Linked DNA regions of Homo sapiens: all the other regions are linked to region 2. The links are contacts of gene promoters, found by promoter capture Hi-C in blood cells and fetal thymus (Javierre and others, 2016). All regions are on one chromosome and are shown on one strand. Each heading gives the region's core, a stretch centred on a gene start or on the middle of the fragment in contact. The rest is flanking DNA. Distances are from core to core; before and after follow the strand shown. Region 1 has its middle 7.5 kb from the start of BCORL1. Region 2 holds the start of XPNPEP2 (X-prolyl aminopeptidase 2). Region 3 overlaps UTP14A (UTP14A small subunit processome component). Region 4 has its middle 28 kb from the start of BCORL1. Region 5 has its middle 31 kb from the start of ZDHHC9.

Region 1 (2,700 bases), core at 74-2,573, 240 kb before region 2:
GGATACTAAGTGCTGGCTCCCAGAGAACAAATGGCCTGGTCTCTGCCCTCTTAGAGCCCCAGGTGTGGATGGGGAGACAGCATGTCCGGTTAAACTGAACTCTGTAAACAACCAACAACTTTTTTGGATTTTATAGCCAAAGGAGTGAAAATGAGGAAAGGGGCTGAAATCAACCCAGAGGCCTCACCGGGTCAAGCCCTTCAGCTTGCTGACCACTCTCCTCTTCCCTGAGACTCCTAGGCTCTAAACAAAGTTCTTTCTTAAAAATTATTATTTTTTTTAACATTAGAGGGGGTGGTGGTGGCGTGGTCTTGCAATGTTGCCTAGGCTGGTCTGGAACTCCTGGGCTCAAGTGATCCTCCAGCCTTGGCCTTCCAAAATGCTGGGATTATAGGTGTGTGAGCCACCGCGCCCAGCCAACAAAGTTCTTAATCAAACATGCAGTGCTAGAAGTGGAAGGGATTCTAAGAAATCTGCCCTCCTGAAAAACTGGCTATGGTTGGCCACTGCCAACAAAATCAAGTCCATGAGCCTTCACCTAGCCTTTAGGGCCCTCCCTGATCTAGTTCTAGCCTCCTTTCCTTCCATGTCTCTCACAAGCCCTCTTTTCTGACCTGACTGGCCCCCTCGGCATTCCTTGGATAAGCCATCCATTTTGTCAGCTCTGCTTCCTCAGCTTTTTTTTTTTTTTAAACACTTAAAAAAATTGTACAGATGAGGCTGGGCGTGGTGGCTCACACCTGTAATCCCAGCACATTGGGAGGCCAAGGCGGGTGGATCACCTGAGGTCAGAAGTTCAAGACCAGCCTGGTCAACATGGTGAAACCCCATCTCTACTAAATATACAAATATTAGCCAGGCATGGTGGCAGGTGCCTGTAATCCCAGCTACTCAGGAGGCTGAGGCAGGAGAATCGCTTGAACTCAGGAGGTGGAGGTTGCAGTGAGCCAAGATCACGCCATTGTGCTCCAGCCTGGGCAAAGAGAGCAAAACTTTGTTCAAAAAAAAAAATTGCACAAATGAGTTCTTGAGTTCTCGTTGTGTTGCCCAGGCTGGTCTTGAACTCCTAGCCTCAAGTGATCCTTCCCTCTTCGCCTCCTAAAGTGCTGAGATTACAGGTGTGAGCCACCATAGTGGCCTCCCACAGGTTTTTTTGTTTGTTTGTTTGCTTGCTTTTTTTTGAGATGGAGTTTTGCTCTTGTCGCCCAGCCTGGAATGCAATGGCGTGATCTTGGCTCACTGCAACCTCCTTCTCCTGGGTTCAAGCGATTCTCCTGCCTCAGCCTCCCTAGTAGCTGGGATTACAGGCACGTGCCACCACACCCAGCTAATTTTTGTATTTTTAGTAGAGACAGGGTTTCACCATGTTGGCCAGGTTGGTCTCGAACTCCTGATTTCACATGATCCACCCACCTTGGCTTCTCAAAGTGCTGGGATTATAGGCGTGAGCCATCGCACCTGGCCCCTCCCACCTGCCCCCTCCCACAGCTTTTTATATGTCTTTCTCAGCTTATTGAAATCTCACTCAACCGTTACTCAAGACAGCTCTCTCATCTGGGTGTGGCGGCTCACGCCTGTAATCCCAGCACTTTGGGAGACCAAGGTGGGTGGGTCACTTGAGGTCAGGAGTTCGAGACCAGCCTGGGCAACATGGCAAAACCCCGTCTCTACTTAAAATACCAAACTTAGCCAGGTGTAATGGCACACGCCTGTAATCCCAGCTACTTGGGAGGCTGAGGCAGGAGAATTGCTTGAACCTGGGAGGCAGAGGCTGCAGTGAGCTGAGATCTTGCCACTGCACTCCAGCCTGGGCGACAGAGCAAGACTCTGTCTCAAACAACAAACAACAAACAAACAAACAAAAGACCATTCTCTCATGCCCCTTTCCCTGACACCCACACCCTCCCTATGGAAGTTGGCTGCTCCTCTGGGGCACCCCCACAGTTTTTAGCTTGTCCCTTTAGTTAGCACTTCCACACTCTGCCTGTCTATCTCTCCGACTAGATTTTAAGTTCCTTGGATAAAAGGACTCAGTATTTCTCATCTGTGTATCACAGCCTCCTTCATCTCCCCCCAAGACCTCCCACCTTGGCACATAGTAGGACTTGTTTTACAGTGGAGAAGCTGAGGCCCAGACTTGACTTCCCTTCTTGCCAAAGACTCATTTTAAAGTCTGGGTCTCTTTTAGTCTTTCTCTTCCCACTCAGTGATTAAGCACACAATCTCTGAAGTTAGACAGACATGGTTTGAATACTGGCTCCACCACTTCCTAGCGCTATTGCCTTGCATACTTTTCTCTGAGCCTCAATTCCCTCATTTGTGAAATGGGGGCTAATAAGTACCTCCTGAAAACGTTATAAGGGCCAGGCGCGGTGGCTGAAGCCCGTAATCCCAATGCTTTGTGTGGCCAAGGCGGGGGGAACAGTTGAAGTCAGGAGTTCAAGATCAGCCTGGGCAATATGGTGAAACTCATCTCTGTATATAAAAAAGAAGAAGAAGAAGCAAACGTTATAAAGATCACATGAGTTCTTGTATGTTAAGCACTTAGAACAGTGCCTGGCACCCAGTAGATGCTCCATAGTAGTTTAAAAAAATAAGGAATTTTTAAAGTTCAGAACTTGAGAGCGCCTGCTTCATTTAAGCCTAGGAATAAAACCCACAACCTGAACATAAAGAAAAAGAGATGTATTTTTGGGAAGG
Region 2 (2,700 bases), core at 200-2,699:
CTCGAACTCCTGACCTCAAGTGATCCGCCTGCCATGGCCTCCCAAAGAGCTGGGATTACAGGCATGAGCCACCACGCCCAGCCACACTTTCGAGTGGGCTGAGCTACAGATGCAAGGAGGGTGGCTGGGGTTCAACACCATGAACGTCCTGTGTGATTTTATCTTGGTCTCATAAACTCAAGGATCAGATGCGACCCATACTGTTCATTTAAGAAAACAAACACCCATTTCTGTAGAAACAGATCCCTGGCAAAATGTTGGCACTGATATGCTAACATAAGAATGAGGACACAGCCAACTTATGTCTCTCTGGACACCAGAATATGCTGTTCTCTGAGGCCAGGGCTGTGGCTCCCAAGAGCAGGCTCTGCAGCTGAATGACTCTGTGGTCCCTGGCACAAGGCCTGGCACTGGGTAGGTGCTCAGGAACTGGACATTGAGTGACTGATCAGGCCCTGCTGACAGACAACAAAGAAAGGAAGGCTAGGGTGGGAGCGCTGGGCTGGGCACCTAGTTGAGGACAGAGAGGGTGCCGCAGGAATGACAAAGAGGAAAGACTCTCTTCCTGACCAAAGTTTAGTTAGGCTCCCCCAAAGCCTCTTCTCCACTTGGCCTTGACCTTGGCCTTCTGTGTCTGTCCTGCCCTTGCCAGGCTTGCATCACCCAGTCTTAGCAAGAATCTTGCTAAGTCAGTTTAGACACCCTTGATATCTGATCACTCTGGCCTGCCGTCAGCAAGAATGCTGTTCAGTCGGTTTAGCAAGAATCCCCCTACCCTTGCTATCTCCTCTTAATACTTTTCCATCCACTGACCCCCTCACTCTGCTCCTTGGCTACAGATCCCTGGAAGTCTTTTCTGTAATCAGAGTTGAGCCCCATTTCTCTCCTCTATTGCAATGCGGTAGTCTTAAATTAAGTTTTCCTTACCGTTTTAACGAGTGTCAGAATATTTTTTTTCTATAACGGGGGGAATGGAAAGGTGCCAAACCAGACTCGATCCAAGTTATGAGGGCCCCCAACACTGGCCCTGAGGTGTCTCTTCCTCAAGTCAGAGAGAGGAAGCAACAGAAAAAGAGACTCGGGCCCCAACCCTCACTCCAACCCTTTCTGAGCTCAGAGGGGAGAGGTCAGAGCTGCCTTCCAGTGGAAGCTAGGATGCACATACCACAGAGGAGGACCAGCCAGGGGCAGCAGCCCCAGTGAGCCCGGGCCATAGGGTCTCCAGATGCCGGCGCTGGGTGGATGGAGGGACAAGGGAGAGAGGGAGGGCTCTTTCCCCGGCCTCTTCCTTCAGGCCTTTCCTGGGCTCGAGCAGACAGAGGGTGGGGGCTGGCGTCAAGAAGGAGGCGTCTGGCTGCTGGGTGGAGAGTGCTTCTCTGGTCTTTTGTTTTGGAGGGCTCTGGGAGCCAGGGTGGGCAGAGGAGCTTTGGGCTGCCCGAGGCGGACTGTGCAAGTTCCTAGTCGTGTAGGATAGGGTGTGAGGCTATCCTGGGCAGAGTCCAAAGATCTCAGAGACAGAGGCACAACAGCTGGTCTCAATCAGCCTGCTTTTCCCAGCCCCCTCTCAGCGGCAGAGCCCCAGCCATTCCTTAATTCGGTCCCCTTCCCTCCAGCAAGCTGATTCCCATTAGCTCCCACACTCTGGGCTCTGGCTCCAGCACTGCTTTTGCTGTGGGGATGGAGATTTGCCTCCTGCTGCTGCTCCTTTTCCTCCCCACCTCTTCTTCCTCCTCGTTTTCCTTCTCCTCCTCCTTTTTCCTCCTTCCCCTCCTTTTCTGGGCTCCTCCACTTCCTCTTCTTCTTCCTCCTTTTCCCTCCTCATCCTCCTCCTTTTTTTTTTTTTCCTCCTTGTCCATTTCCTCCTCCTCCTCCTTTTTGCTCTTCCTCCCCCTCCTTTTTTCCTCCCTCTCTTCCTCCAAGCTGACTGGAAAAGCCAGTGTCCTCTCTTCTTGTAGTGCTTGGCAAGTCCCACTGTACCCCTTGGGAAAGTTGGTTGTGACTGGAGAGTTACTTTCTTGAGCTGGGATGAGTCCCCCCAGGAGTGCCCACTCTGAAGAAGTGATGCCAGCTCTTCCCTTGGGATCTGGGGAGTCCCATTCCCCTGCATTTTCTGAACCTGCACTCTGGGGAACCGAGGCTGTTAGAGCCACTCACACCTGGGAGGAAATGAAAGCCCAAAGATGCCCCTATCTGGAGGGTTTGGGGGATGCCACTGAATAGGGAAGAAGACACAGAAAGGGGAGTTTGGGCGCTCTGAGAAGACTAATTTGGTGAACTGGAAATGCTGTTTCTGCTGTAGCTTCTAGAACAGGGATTTGGTTACCCTGAAGTGTGAGTCACTCGTAAACAACACAACTCCCAATGAGGGAAATGGAGAAGCTGAGGCCTGCCTTGTCTTCACGCCCAGCTGAATCAGAGGGCAGCTTCAAGGCAGCTCCTAGTAAATGCTCTACAGAACCCTTGCTCTTTGGGTTCGAGGAAGGTGATTTCCCAGAGAGGAATGCTTTAGAGAGACAAACAGACCCAATGGGGATGGATGCTCACCTAGCCTGGAGGGCCCCAGAGGCAAACTGCCCATTCCTTTTGTTTCTATTTTTATTTTTGAAACAGGGTCTTATTCTGTTGCCCAGGGTGGAGTGCAGTGGCATGTTCTCGGTTCACTGCAACCTCAGCCTCCCGGGCTCAAGTGATTCTCCAGCC
Region 3 (2,700 bases), core at 35-2,534, 180 kb before region 2:
CCATGTATACACACATCAACTAGCATTAAGAAGTGCTAAAAATGCCACTCCTACTTAACCAACAAAACAAAAAAATCCAGCAACTAGACAATGTTTCCTAATGTCTCAAAATTGACCTATCTGTGTCTACAGGTGTGAATGGACTTTCAGATTTGCCATTCTACCATACGTACTTCTCCCTGGTGTGTAGGTACCAGGAACGCTAACTCATACCCTGACTTCGAGTATGGTTTAGTTATTATGGGTTTCTGAAGGCTGTAAGCCCCCAAGAACAGAAAATGTGCCTGAACCACGTTGCACGGCCATGCAGATGACTGCTTATTAAATGTCTTCGAAGAAAAATAGTTATGAATCTAATTTCTCTTCAGGGATCCAGTGTACGCACTCTTGCAAGTCCCCAGCGCCTAATCACTATGCAGTTTTGTGTGTGGGTGGACACATTTTTTTTTTCTCCCATAGTCTGTCCACAGCACTAGGAATTTCCCTCTTCCATTTGATCACAGCTCACCTTTTGTTTCTTGACTGCCTGCTGGCTCAGCATCTTGGCTGAGCTCAGATCTTTTTCTAAGGGATCGCCTTTCCTCAAATTCTCTCAACAAAATTTCTTCTTCTGCCACTGGTCTTTCTTCTCCCTCACTTTCAGAAACTCCATGGGCCTCAAGCTCTGGCAGTTGCTCAGGGTCCTCCTGGGTTGCAGCCTCTTTGGTGTCACTGGTGCAGCTCCTGAGCATCCAGGGATTCGGCCCATCTGCATTCATCTGCACTTCATTCACTACATCAGGGACAAGGAGTTCTTCCACATCTTCTGTGCCTCCCTCCTCTTCCTCACTCTCAGAGGCTACCTGGAGTTTCTGTGTCAGTTCTTTGTTCTTAGACAACTGTTCCTGCATAGCTTGGCGAGCCTGGAGGAAAGAGTCACAGCATGAGAGCCCTGTCATTAGTGACCGCAATAACACCTTTCCTGGTCCATTTCATAAAGCTGCCTCCTCTCAATTTGACTTGGTGAGTATTTCTTACTGGTACCTACTGTTTAAACTGCATATACAATGCTGGGTTAATAGCTATGGTATAAAATGGAAGACAAATTCTTTGTCCTCAAGGAATCAACGGTGAAATAAGATTTTAAAAAGCTCCTCTCCCCCTTTGGACTTGCCTTCAATGCTGTTTCCCTTTCATCTCTCCTTTTCCACCTTGTTCCTGGTCATTTTCCTTTCTGCCTTAGAGATTTTTCTGATGCCTTTTTAGATTCCTGGTTTTCCATCCATCCTCATGGCTCTTCCCCAACTCTGCTTCTGCTAGCATCCTCCAATTCCAGATCTTCTCTCACCCCAAGGGTCTCTTACCTCCAGGTCATATTTGGCCATAATTGCCTTTGACTTGGCCCATTTCCCACTGTTTTGGTGCTTAAGGCTCATTCTTTCCTAGAAAGAAAGGACAGAGTGAGATTTACATCTTTAGTGCCTTCCAAGGAAAGCTGGTTCAAAGGGGTGGGGGTGGGGCAAGAGGTAGTCTCACCATCATTCTGGCCTTTTCAATTTTTTCCAGTTCTTCTAGTGCTGCAGCTGGATTAACCTTCCGCAGCTGCTCAAACTCTTTTAGGGCTTTCTTGGCCTTTCCTTTCTTCACGACTTTGTGATACCTGTAGGGGTAGGAGGGAAGAGTTTAGCAATTTAGCTGAAGCACGGATGTCATAGGCACAAGTGCCCATACTACCCAATGGGTTCCCTAGGCAGGGGGCTGGAATGGGCATCATAGAGCTAGTTGGCTATAGGGAGTCAGTTTGGGACCTGACAGGACTGGCAAGATTCTTGGTACCCACAGTCCTCAGGGTGGACCTCTGCAGCTCAAAGAGTCTCCTTTGCCTCTATAACTCAAGGGAGGGGTAGAACAAGTTTCATTTTTTTTTTTAGACAGGGTCTCACTCTGTCACTCAGGCTGGAGTGCAGTGACATGATCTTGGCTCACTGCAGCCTCCACCCGCTGGGCTCAAGCGATCCTCCCGCCTCAGCCTCCTAAGTAGCTGGGACTATAGGTGCACATTACCATGCCTGGCTAATTTTTGTACTTTTAGTAGAGATGGGGTTTCGCCATGTTGGCCAGGCTGGTCTTGAATTCCTTACCTCAAGTGATCCACCTGCCTGAGCCTCCCAAAGTGCTGGGATTACAGGTGTGAGCCACCGTGCCCAGCCAGTTTTGCCATGTTGCCCAGGCTGGTCTTGAACTCCTGAGCTCAAGTGGTCCATCCACCTCGGCCTCCCAAAGTGCTGGGATTACAAGCATAGCCACCACACCCGGCCGAACAAGTTTCAAAGAGGCAAAAAGGCAGGAAGGAAGCCCTATTGGCCTTAACAGCTCTGGAATTCAGAGCTGATTCTGCAGAACCACTCTGTGATGCCTTGGAAGGCAGAGAAAGTAACTGAATAGTCATCTTTTTGGCAAAACTGTATGAGGTTGGTTTGGGGGGAACAAAAGGCTAGTCACTCCTGTTTGGGACCTCATCTGCATGACTCTAGTTGCTGCATCAAAGGTTCTCTCCAAAGAATTCATGATGAACCACATGACTTTCTTCTGTGGAACCCAAGGCCAGTTCACAGGGGCCTCCTTACTTTTTACTTTTGATTTTCTTCTCTCTTCGAGCCTTGGCCTCATAGTAGGACTGCAGAGCCCGAGCCCTCTGAAGCTCTGCTCGTCGCATCTTTG
Region 4 (2,745 bases), core at 67-2,566, 220 kb before region 2:
TCTGTTGCTCAGGCTACAGTGCATTGGAGCGATCATGGCTTACTGCAGCCTTGACCTCCTGGGCTCAAGCGATCCCTCCACCTCAACCTCATAAGTAGCTGGGACCATAGGTGCGCGCCACCATGTCCAGCTAATTCTCAAAAACATGTTTTTTGTAGAGACAAGTTCTCTCTGTTGCCCAGGCTGGTCTCAAGCTCCTAGGCTCAAGTGATCCTCATGCCTCAGGTCTCCCAAAGTGCTGGGATTACAGGTGTGAGCCACCATGCCCGTTCATCCCTTTTTCAAGTCAAGTGCTGCCTTATCTACCCATCCACCTACACACCTGGCTTAGAAGCACCCCATTCAGGGCGAGGTCTTTCTATTGCCACCCATCCTTGGTGCTGGGCTTTGCACTTAAGAGGGGCTTTCAAAAATAGACACAAAGGGTGAGGGGCCATCTTTGGCTCGCCTGGCCAGGGACAGGATCAAGCTGCCCAGTTACAAATCTGTTATGTATATTCTGTGCCCTGGTGCCCTTCTTCCAAATCAAAATATAGCAGGCAGTGCAAACATTTATGCAAATGAGCCAGGAGCCCTCCTGCTTTCAAAAATAAATGATGGAGCCCGTATCAGTAGTTGCAGTGTGTCTTGGCAGTGTTTAGAAGGGGCCCTGTCCACCCCTTGCTAGTTCTCTTGGGAAGCCCAGCACAGTGAGAAGCAGTGTATCTTACCCCCCTCATTTCCCCCTCCCCTCCAATACTACAAACAGCCACAAACCACATGGCCCACAAGCAACTGAGATTTGTGGCCTTTGGAACCTCCCAGGGCAGGGGTCAGTCAGCAGGTCAAAGCGGGTGTAGGCATCACACAGTCCAGAGTCATTACTCTAATGCCCTCTGGGAGAGTTTCAAATCAATGGGCCTATTTGTCCTCCCTCCAGGGAGGACTGGGGGTAGGGCAGCGGGGGTCCATTATCAAGCCCATCCCCACAACACTGCCTCCAAGAAGCTCACCCTTAGCCTGGCATCCTGAAAACCTCACTGCTACCCAGAAGACAGAAACCGGAAGTGGGATGATGTCTGTGGGGATGGGCAGATAGGATGTCTCCTTTGCATTCTAGGTTAGGAATCTAGGAGTCTGGACTTTTATGTGGGAGTCTCTGTGGCATTTACAAAGCCAGCAGGGTGACTTTGGGCGCCTGTTGACCTCTCTACATTTTGGCAAATAGCCAGTTTCCAGCAAGACCATGCCCTGACCCAGTTGTCTCTGTTGCTTCTGGGAGAGTTTTAGAATCACTCTTTGTGGGAAAGAGGTTGGGTAGTATAGTGATTAGAGAGCTGGACTTGGGCATTGGCCAGACCTGGATTCCAAACCCAGCTCTGCCACTAACCAGCTGTGTGACCTCTTCAAGTTACCTTCTCTGAACCATAGTTGCCTTATCTGTTGAACGGGGATAATAATAGTACCTACCATATAAGACTGTTATTGGGATTAGTGTGCTATGTACTTGGCAGTTTGTGAGGGTTCAATAAATAGTAGTTGTGGTGGCCATTCTTACTAGGTTTGGTTGCAGGCAAGTGCTATTCTGCTGGTCCCTGTCAAGCCTGAGGCCCTTCTCGGCTCAAATCCCTCCCTAAGATACTGGAGAGATGGAATTCTTTCTGTCACCCCTCCCCTCCCAGCATTTGGGTCTTTTGTTCTGGGATTGGCCAGGGCTATGCCTAAAGTGCACCAAGTGTGGCTCTGGCCACAGGCATATCCCCTGAGGGGACTTAGCCTTGTTGACTAAAATGGTATTAAGTGGTCAGCGGGTGGCGAGGGGGAGACTCAGGGGAACAGTACCTCCGAAGACTCTAAAATGCATACACATGGTATCTAGGGCCAGGCTAGTGCCATGGCTCTAGACCCTAGCTAAGAGTGCATTTACAGAGGCTGCTTTGAGAATGTTTTGTGAATGTTTTGGCTGATTTACTGGATAACCTTCATCTTCAATGGCCTTGTTTAAATTTTACCACGGTATGGAATGGGAAGGAGCTCACTTTCCATTCCAACTTTTGGTGGCAGGAGTTGGTAGGATGGGAAGGGCAGCTCGCTAAGTGCTGGACAACATGGCCCAAAAACAATCTGGTTCAGCCAGAAGTTCACGAATACATAGGCCAGCTCTGCTTTTGCAGGGCACCTTCATCCCACTTTTGGATTCATCCTTACTGTTGAGTTTGAACTGCTAAAGGGAGAGAGACTGGGTCTCTCCTATCAGACCTGGAGCTCCCTGAGGTTGGAGATCTTGTCAACCCCACTGTACCGGGAACCTTCCGACGGCGGGGGCCGAGTCTCCTCCCTTTGGCTGGCCGTTCTCCAGCCTGGGAACCGAAAAAGCTGCCTCCGCCCCCGGAGCATGTCCCCCACCCATGCCCGGTGCATTCCTTGGTATTCGAAGCACCCGGAGGCTCAGCACCCGCGGCGGAGCGATTGGCGCCAGCGAGGCCCGGAAGGATGCTTCGGGGCCCGAACTCCCCAGACCTCCGGCTGGGCAGGGGAGGGGGAAGCTGCCGGCTGCCCGAGGAGGGAGGGGCCACGTGGTTGTGGGGAGCTGCAGAGGGGTGCCCCCGGGTCCGTCCAGGCCCTTTTGTCTGTCCCCTGCGCCGAAGCCCCCTCCCCAAAGTGGGCTGGCTGCCGGGGAGGAGGGAGGCCCCGGTGGGCGTGGGGGGGTGGTGCGGAGGGGAAGGGGAGAGTAAACGAGCACTATGGGGGCTGGGAGAGGCTGGA
Region 5 (2,700 bases), core at 164-2,663, 140 kb before region 2:
CAGTGGCACAGTCATAGTTTACCACAACCTTGAACTCCTGGGCTCAAGTGATCCTCCTGCCCCAGCCTCATTAGTAGCTGGAATTACAAGCGCTAGCCACCAAACCTGTTAAAACTTGAACTTTGACATATGTTGACTGGGCTCAGAAAAACGTTGATGGGAGACAGCCCATCTCAGTGTGGCTGTTCTTGGGGTGCTCAGCTTTGCTCCCAGCATCTGGAGACTTTGTCATAATGCTTTCTGCTTGGCTAGTTGCTAGGGAGCGTGCCTGGAAGGATGTGGTTTCCACAGCATCTGGAGTTTGGCTAATAGTCCTGGTGTCCCATCAGTGAGAATGAGTCATTAAACTGTTGCTCTCCACTGAATCGTTTTTCAGCTGCTCTGCCTCTGCAGGCCAGAAGGAACAGGACCCACTTTCCTGGTGACTGCTAGGGAAGCCTTTGTGGCAAACCCTAGGGTGGGTTATATTAAGTGGATGCTAAGAAGAGGTGTGAGGACCTTTGAGTAGCTACTGGGGGCATCCTGGGAGCTGACTTTATCCACAGTGGTGTCTTCTTTCAACATCATCATGGCAGATGGCACTTGTATTACCATTCTCACTGACCATCATTGGCTCAGGACCCCTAAAATCACAGGGATTCTCTGGCGGGGACATGCTGGGAATCTGAGTGCCCATGTTCATCCAAATATGTTGTTGCAACATGACCACACTGGCAAATTTCTTTTGACTAATGGGGTATGTACTTATGGATGAGTTGGTTCCATGAACCCTGAGAAGTGTCTTTACGTTGCCTTTGGTAGAAAAAGCTTGTCCACAGATTTCACATAGGATGGGTCTCTCCCCAATGTGGGTGTGGTAATGTATGATTTTTTTCCAAGTGAGAGCAAATTTATTAAAGTAAAGGAATAAAAGAATGGCTACTCCATAGGCAGAGCAGCCCTGAGGGCTGCTGGTTGGCTATTTTTGTGGTTATTTCTTGACTACATGCTAAACAAGTGGCGGGTTTTTCATGAGTTTTCCGGGAAAGTGGTGGGCAACTCCTGGAACGGACGGTTCCTCCACCTTTTAGACCATAAATGGTAACTTCCTGACATTGCCTTGGCATTTGTAAACTGTCATGGTGCTGGTGGGAGTGTCTTTTAGCATACTAATGTATTATAATTAGCATATAATGAGCAGTGAGGATGACCAGAGGTTACTTTCCTCACCATCTTCGTTTGGGTGGGATTTGGTCTGCTTCTTTACCACATGTTGTTTTATCAGCAAGGTCTTTGTGACCTGTATCTTGTGCCAACCTCCTATCTCATCCTGTGACTTAGAATGCTTAACCTCCTGGGAATGCAGCCCAGTAGGTCTCAGCCTCATTTTACCCAGCCCCTATTCAGGATGGAGGCACTCTGGTTTGAACACCTCTGACATATTTCTCCCCTGCGTTTTACAAAGGAATCCTTAATCTTTTATTATTATTATTATTTTATTTATTTATTTATTTATTTTTTTGAGATGGAGGCTTGCTCTGTCACCCAGGCTGGAGTGCAGTGGCGCGATCTTGGCCCTCTGCAACCTTCCCCTCCCGAGTTCAAGCGATTCTCCTGCCTCAGCCTGCCAGGTAGCTGGGACTACAGGTGCGTGCCACCATGCCTGGCTAATTTTTGTATTTTTAGTAGAGATGGGGTTTTGCCATGTTGGCCAGGCTGGTGTCAAACTCGTGACCTCAGGTGATTCACCCGCCTCGGCCTCCGAAAGTGCTGGGATTACAGGTGTGAGCCTCCGCATCTGGCCAGGAACCCTTAATCTTAAGGGTTATAGAGGGACAAAGATCCATCTTCCGTAACTTCTTCAGGCTGAATTGGGCAATGATACTCCTGCCTACCTATTAGGGTCTCTTGTATTCAGGGTAGAGAGGAGCTCAGTCAGAAAGTGTAAGTATGGTGAGGGCCATCCATAACTCTTGAGTTCTGACAAAAGCTGATATCTGTAGTAAGTATTCAATTTAAGAAAATGTTGAGTAAGCTTATCCTGCATTCCTACACAAAGAGTACAGCAGCAATATTTTCCACAACAGTAAAACAAAGTAAGTAAAATTATTCCAAGTGAACTGAATAAGAAAGCTTTCCACGAACTGGGCAATTGTTGAAACCAAGCTGATATGGTGTCGCTAGCTGATTCTAATATGTGCCCAGAATTAGAATACTGACCCAGATTTTTACATTACCCATCCCTCTTGTTTCTTCTGAGCAGCAGCCAGAGATCACTGGTTGGTTCACAGGAATAAGCACGGTTAGTCTAAATTGCAGGAAAAAAAACCCTTAAAAACAACGAATGAGACTATAATTTAATAACAGGCGTACCATCGTTCTTGAAACAATTTTTCTCTCTCCAGTCTCCCATTTTTACTAAAGACAAATCATGGTAAGACTGATTTGCTTTATTATACTTGGCCTGATTATGTGTATAAAGTGCAGCAATAATAATAATAATTGTTAGATTTTTTTTTTCTTGAGATGGAGTCTCACTGTGTCGCCTAGGCTGGAGTGCAGTGGCATGATCTTGGCTCACTGCAACCTTCACCTCCTGAGTTCAAGCGATTCTCATGCCTCAACCTTCCAAGTAGCTGGGATTACAGGCACACGCTGCCATGCCCAGCTAATTTTTCTATTTTTAGTAGAGACAGGGTCTCACCATACCAGCCTGGCTGG

What was found. The method cuts DNA at HindIII sites, captures the fragments that hold promoters and counts their contacts. A CHiCAGO score of 5 or more calls a contact.
Region 1: a fragment that was not itself captured here is called in contact with the fragment with the promoter of XPNPEP2 in region 2 in 3 of 17 cell types (activated CD4 T cells, non-activated CD4 T cells and neutrophils); the score reaches 9.0 in activated CD4 T cells.
Region 3: a contact is called between a fragment that was not itself captured here and the fragment with the promoter of XPNPEP2 in region 2, in 2 of 17 cell types (M0 macrophages and M1 macrophages). The highest score is 6.2, in M0 macrophages.
Region 4: a fragment that was not itself captured here is called in contact with the fragment with the promoter of XPNPEP2 in region 2 in 1 of 17 cell types (activated CD4 T cells); the score reaches 5.2 in activated CD4 T cells.
Region 5: a contact is called between a fragment that was not itself captured here and the fragment with the promoter of XPNPEP2 in region 2, in 5 of 17 cell types (activated CD4 T cells, non-activated CD4 T cells, total CD8 T cells and 2 more). The highest score is 7.5, in activated CD4 T cells.

The regions. Positions count from the first base shown.
Region 1 is chrX:129,973,767-129,976,466 of GRCh38, reverse strand. No RefSeq gene overlaps it. Among named protein-coding and RNA genes, the nearest start is that of BCORL1, 7.5 kb to the left of the region's middle. The HindIII fragment of the contact is 3,364 bases long and covers 1-2,700 here.
Region 2 is chrX:129,737,728-129,740,427 of GRCh38, reverse strand. It overlaps XPNPEP2 (X-prolyl aminopeptidase 2), which reads right to left and starts at 1,449. Exons shown (of 21, transcript NM_003399.6): 1 at 1,166-1,449. The coding sequence starts at 1,214. RefSeq lists an enhancer at 2,170-2,219. The HindIII fragment of the contact is 11,300 bases long and covers 1-2,700 here.
Region 3 is chrX:129,919,396-129,922,095 of GRCh38, reverse strand. UTP14A (UTP14A small subunit processome component) reads right to left here. Exons shown (of 15, transcript NM_006649.4): 8 at 2,607-2,700; 9 at 1,516-1,639; 10 at 1,344-1,421; 11 at 509-902. The region is part of intron 2 of LOC105373335 (a long non-coding RNA gene); the gene reads left to right. Among named protein-coding and RNA genes, the nearest start is that of UTP14A, 15 kb to the right of the region's middle. The HindIII fragment of the contact is 8,896 bases long and covers 1-2,700 here.
Region 4 is chrX:129,953,049-129,955,793 of GRCh38, reverse strand. No RefSeq gene overlaps it. Among named protein-coding and RNA genes, the nearest start is that of BCORL1, 28 kb to the left of the region's middle. RefSeq lists an enhancer at 2,216-2,745. The HindIII fragment of the contact is 4,564 bases long and covers 1-2,745 here.
Region 5 is chrX:129,873,481-129,876,180 of GRCh38, reverse strand. It overlaps the pseudogene SALL4P2. Among named protein-coding and RNA genes, the nearest start is that of ZDHHC9, 31 kb to the right of the region's middle. The HindIII fragment of the contact is 1,207 bases long and covers 810-2,016 here.